2 separate regions of the Homo sapiens genome follow, and region 1 is linked to region 2. Evidence: promoter capture Hi-C in 16 types of primary human blood cells and fetal thymus (Javierre and others, 2016). All regions are on one chromosome and are shown on one strand. The core of a region is centred on a gene start or on the middle of the fragment in contact, and the rest is flanking DNA. Distances in the headings are between cores, read along the strand shown.

Region 1 (2,709 bases), core at 71-2,570, 1.0 Mb before region 2:
ACTTAGCTAGCACACACTACGTTCTCTGTGATTCTCAGTGAGGCAGTTGGTGGCTGTGGTTAAGAAAGTAAGCTCTGCCTGTGTTGGAATCCAACACTGCCACTTACTTGGATGTGTCATCTTGGGCAGGTCACTCTGTCCCTCAGTTTCCACCTTTGCAATTTGGGACTAGTAACGCCATCCAACTCATAGGGTTGTTATGAGTTGTAATGAGGATTCAGTGGATTTAACCCATTTAAATGCAAGGTGCCTGGTATAATAAAATTATTTTCTTTTCTTAATTTATTCTTGTAGTTGGGGATGAAAAACTCGCACTCCTGTAGGCAGTCAGAAAAAATGAGTGAAGTGGGGGAACTAAGGGGCCTGGTCTGAAGGGGGAGACTGATATTTAGGGGAGTGCGGACCCAGTGGTGTGAGATTTTCAGAATCTCCTCTTGACGGGTCTCATCCGAGGTTCCAGCACAGCTCTGTAAAGGTAAAGACCGTTTACATTTTCCTCCTCAAAGCTTTATTATTATTATTTTTCTTCTCAAAACACTGCTTTGCTTTGGGGGAGCGCGGGTCCTTGGCCAGATCTTGAGTCTTGAGATATGTCTTCAGCATCTCCTGCTCCTCCTTGGGAAACGCTCCACCCGCCAGTGGGCCTGCGCCCTCCTCCCCTTCTTCGGGGTTCGGGTCCACCTCGTTTCCCCCACCCTCCCCAGGGCTGACTGCAAATCGGAGGGCGACTGCAGAGGCGGAATTCGGGGCAGAGCGGGGTCTCCCCAGCGGGCCACGTCCCACCAGCAGGTGGCGGTCGATCTGCAAGGCCTGCAAGGTGCCCGGACAGAAACTTGAGCAGATATTGGTGCCGCTGCCCGAGAAGAGCTCAGCCGAGTCTCCCCGAGCCCAGCTATCGGCATCCGCGAAAAAGCGGGGAGAGAAGGGCACGGGCTCTCCGCTGGAGCGACTCTGGGATTCAGACACCGCAAGCTGCTTTCGGAAGGGCTTCAGGAGGGGGTGAGTACTGAGCAGCGCACAGAAAAGGGAGCGCTGTCCTTTGCTGAAGGCATTGTCCTTGGCTTGCATTGAGTGGCTTTCCCACCCCCCGGGAAAGACATTTCGGGAAGGTGACGGTCTCAACAGAAGGAGGGAGCGCGGGAAAGAAGCCCGGGGAGCCGGCGCCTTCACGCCCCGCGGTCTGCAGCGGGAGGAGCGCGGGTTCCATCGCGCCAGATGGCGCTGTCTGGCTTTTCTCGGGCCTCGGGCGCCAGTCTCCAGAGGTCTCCGGCGCAGCTGCCTCTCTAGCCGGCCGACGCGGGCTCTGTGTTTCCGGGCGGAAGTGAGGCGCCCAGCGGAACGGCCTCTGGTGACATTTTCTTGGGGGCGGCGCGGACGACTGAAGGGACTTGGTGGTAGAGGCTGCGGAGGCGGCGAGGTTCACTTTGGTCCCGGCAGGGGCTCTGACCGCGACCCACTGCTCGCTGCCGGGGCTTGTTCCGAGGAGGAGAAGGCGGCGGTGGCCGTCGCGTCCTGAGTCACCGCAGCGGGGAAGAGTCCCGGCCGGGGGTTCGGTGCGTGCCCCGACGGGGCGCGCGCGAAGCGAGCGAGAAGGCACGGAGTCGCCGCGGAGCGCAGGTGAGGCGGGAAGGGGCGCAGGGCCGCGGCCTGGCTACTGGTCGAGTTGGGGGGCCCGGGTTGCGTCCCAGGGAGGGGTCGGGGCGAATCGGAGGGCTGCGGGCCGCGGTGAGGGCTCTGCGGCGTCCGGACGCTGGGGTCCTAGCGGGCCTGGCTGGTGGGCGCCGGGAACTCGCAGCCTGGATTGCCGGCTGACGCTGGGGCATCGCACCTCTCCGACCTCCTTGCTCGTCCGCCGTTGGTGACCCTAGCGTCCTCCCGGCCCGGCGGAGTTGGCTCCGGCACTCCAAGCCCCCAGACGCTGGGGCCGGGTTGAGGCGAGTCCTTTTCCGGGGGTGCTGAGGGGAGGCTGGAGGTGCCGCAGTCCCCGGGCTGCGGGGGGAAGCGACTTCACGGCCCTGGAGTTGTCTTCACGCAACTTTCCGGCTCCTAGGCCCGCGGGGGAAGCAGTGGCGGCAACTCCGCCAGCTCCGAGAGTAGGGGGTCTGGCGCCGACACCTGCCCCTGCAGCGGAGAGCTCCGGCGCCGCGGCCGCAGTGGCCTTGGTGGAGGGAGAAAAGGCTTTCTTATAGGCTTGGCGCCGCCTGCCTCTCGGCGCTTCCACTACCTTCGGTCGGCAGGCGCCTCCAGTCAATGCGAGAGATGTGTCAGTCTCCAAAATAGACCGCTTCTGGGGAGTTTGTCAACTTTATTTCAAAACCGGCGAGGATGTACACTGACGAACCCGTGTTAAAGACTATCGCCTTTACGCAAGCCATTCATTCTCACTTTAAAATTGTCCACCCCCCCGCCCCGACCCCCGTCCCCGGCAGCCCCCATCACAAAATTGATGCTCACAGGTTGAAGTAGAGAACATCGGTACGAGCCCTACCAGATCCTTGAGCAGTTTCTGTTTGGATGGGTTTTTCGTTTTTTGCCTGACCTTTTGCTTTCTGAATCCTCTTACCCAGTAGAATTAAAATCCTACTGATGATACTTCGTCAAGGTTGGACCTCTTAATTACAAAAACATCTGCCAATTTTGCTTAGGCTTTTATTGTGTAGTATTGGGTACATGCTAACAGAATCACTCCCTTTCTTCTCTTGGGATATT
Region 2 (2,700 bases), core at 53-2,552:
GTAACTTCAGTTACTATAAATGGGCCTGGCACATACTTTGCACTCAATAAATATCTTCTGAAGTAAATGAAATGAATCAATCTTGCTCCTGGGTTTACGTTTCAGTGATTCAAACGGGCATACTTGGTACACAACGTGAGGTCCTGGAAGGTATAACTTGTGTTTTCATTTTTGAATTTCTAAATTCTAGCAGAGTTTTTGGCACACTCTATGCACCCAATAAGCTATCTGAATAAACTTTTCTTGGAACATGAGTGTCTGAATGTCCTGATAACTCCAACACGTTCCCTTCCTGTAATTCCTAAAGCCCAGGAACACTTATTGCCTTCCATCAGTTAGTGAACTACTGATGCTCCAAAATGGGTCACGCCTCCTTCCCCTCCACACCCAACTCGTTTTGTTTTGTTTGTTTTGTTTTGTTAGACGGAGTCTCACTCTATTGCCCAGGCTGGAGTGCAATGGCGCAATCTCGGCTCACTGCAACCTCTGCCTCCCAGGTTTAAGTGATTCTCCTGCCTCAGCCTCCCGCCCGGCTAATTTTTGTATTTCCACCACCACGTCCGGCTAATCTTTGTATTTTTAGTAGAGACGGGGTTTTACCATGTTGGCCAGGCTGGTCCCAAACTCCTGACATCATGATCCGCCGGCCTCGGCCTGCCAAAGTGCTGGGATTACAGGCGGGAGCCACCGCGCCCGGCCCCACACCCCCAACTCTTAGCCCGAAACTCAGACCCCGGGTTTTCGACTATTAAAAGTAGTCACAGGACCGCGACACTGCACTTCAGCCTGGGCAAAAGAGCGAGACTCCCCCTCAAAAAAAAAAGTAGTCACAGAAAACTGAATTAAATTACTGACCTGAAGTAATCGCAAGCAGAGGCGTCCCTGACTGACTTCTATATCCCTCCACCCCAACCCCCTGGGCCCTGCACAGCGGGTGTCTGTTGAATATTCTCCCGGCTGTTGAGCCCAAACCTGATGAGAGGAAAGGCTCGGCTTCCACTCCAAGCCGAGCCTTCCGCTGTTCTTCTGTCCCGGCCCTTGGTGTCCCCTCACGCGGCCCCATTAGGTTACGCGCCCCCGGGGACTCCGCCGCCGCCCCAGCCCGCGCCCCGCGGTCCCACTCACTGTTCTTGAGGAATCGCTCCTCGTGCAGCACTGCGATGGCGTTGACGCAGAGCAGGGCTGCCTGCAGCAGTGAGTACAGGGTAAAGGCCATGGCCGTCCGAGGCCGCCCCGAAGTCCAAGCGATTTCTCTCCCGCCGCCGCAAGGGACGTGGCGCCTCCACGGCCGGCGCCTTCCTACGGAAGCCGATGGGGCCCAAAACGAACTCTCCGGGAAGCCCCGCCTCCATCTGGCTAAGAACCGCCCCTCGCTGAAGACTGCAAGTCCTGCCGCTTGTCTAGACCGGTGATGTGCAATCAATGCTCTGATGTGGCCAGTGCTGCAGGTGCAAAATACACACCGGATTTCACACACTTGGAACTGGAACAAGGATGAAGAATATCCCAATAATTTTTTTTTTTTTGAGATGGAGTCTGGCCCTGTCGCCCAAACTGGAGTGCAGTGGCACGATCTCGGCTCACTGCAAGCTCCGACTCCCGGGTTCACGCCATTCTCCTGCCTCAGCCTCCCAAGTAGCTGGGACTACAGGTGCCCGCCACCACGCCCGGCTAATTTTTTGTATTTTTAGTAGAGACGGGGTTTCACCGTGTTAGCCAGGATGGTCTCAATCTCCTGACCTCGTGATTCCCCCCTCCTCGGCCTCCCAATAATTTTTAAATGTTGATAACATGTTGAAATGAAAATATTTTGAGGCCGGGCGCAGTGGCTCACGCCTGTAATTCTAGCACTTTGGGAAACCGAGGCGGGCAAATCACCTAAGGTCAAGAGTTCGAGACCAGTCTGGCCAACATGGCAAAACCCTGTCTCTACTGAAAATACAAAAATTAGCTGGGTGTGATGGTGGGCTCCTGTAATCCCAGCTACTCAGGAGGCTGAGAGAAGAGAATCACTTGAACCCGGGAGGCAGAGACTGCAGTGAGCCGAGATCCAGCCTGGGTGACAGAGCAAGAGGAAAGAAGGAAGGAAGGGAGGAAGGTTTCTTGTTTATTTTTAATTATTTTATTTAATGTGGTTATGAAGATACTGTAAATGACATGTGACGCTTGCATTATATTTCTATTGCTCAGTACTGCACTTGATGCTCCCAGGAGATACAGGAGATACTAATATTCCCATTTCAGATTTCAGAATGCTAAAACAAAATAACTGTTTTAAAATTACTCAGTGAGAAACATCCCCTCCTTGACCAAACTCCAACCAAGATCCTCTGAGCCTCTTCTTTTTTTTTTTCCCCCCCCAGGAACAGGGTCTTGCTCTGTTGCCCAGGCTGGAGTGCAGTGGCACCATCATAGCTCAATGCAGCCTTCAGCTCCTGGCTCGAGCAGTCCTCCTGCCTTAGCCTCCTGCTTAGCTGTATGTGATGGTTAAGACTGAGTGTCAACTTGATTGGATTGAAGGATGCAAAGTATTGATCCTGGGTGTGTCTGTGAGGGTGTTGCCAAAGGAGATTAACATTTGAGTCAGTGGGCTGGGAAAGACAGGTCCACTCTTAATCCAAGTGGGCACCATCTAATCAGCTGCTGGAGTGGCCAGGATATAAAGCAGGCAAAAAACCAATGAAAAGGGTATGCCAAGAC

Evidence for each region. The method cuts DNA at HindIII sites, captures the fragments that hold promoters and counts their contacts. A CHiCAGO score of 5 or more calls a contact.
Region 1: the fragment with the promoter of ARK2N here is called in contact with the fragment with the promoter of IER3IP1 in region 2 in 1 of 17 cell types (naive CD8 T cells); the score reaches 5.3 in naive CD8 T cells.

The regions. Positions count from the first base shown.
Region 1 is chr18:46,172,714-46,175,422 of GRCh38, forward strand. It overlaps ARK2N (arkadia (RNF111) N-terminal like PKA signaling regulator 2N), which reads left to right and starts at 1,321. Exons shown (of 5, transcript NM_145055.5): 1 at 1,321-1,617. RefSeq lists enhancers at 895-944, 1,265-1,524, 1,555-1,604, 2,205-2,334. The HindIII fragment of the contact is 7,725 bases long and covers 505-2,709 here.
Region 2 is chr18:47,175,062-47,177,761 of GRCh38, forward strand. It overlaps IER3IP1 (immediate early response 3 interacting protein 1), which reads right to left and starts at 1,303. Exons shown (of 3, transcript NM_016097.5): 1 at 1,126-1,303. The coding sequence starts at 1,216. RefSeq lists enhancers at 1,212-1,331, 1,342-1,471. The HindIII fragment of the contact is 4,620 bases long and covers 1-2,700 here.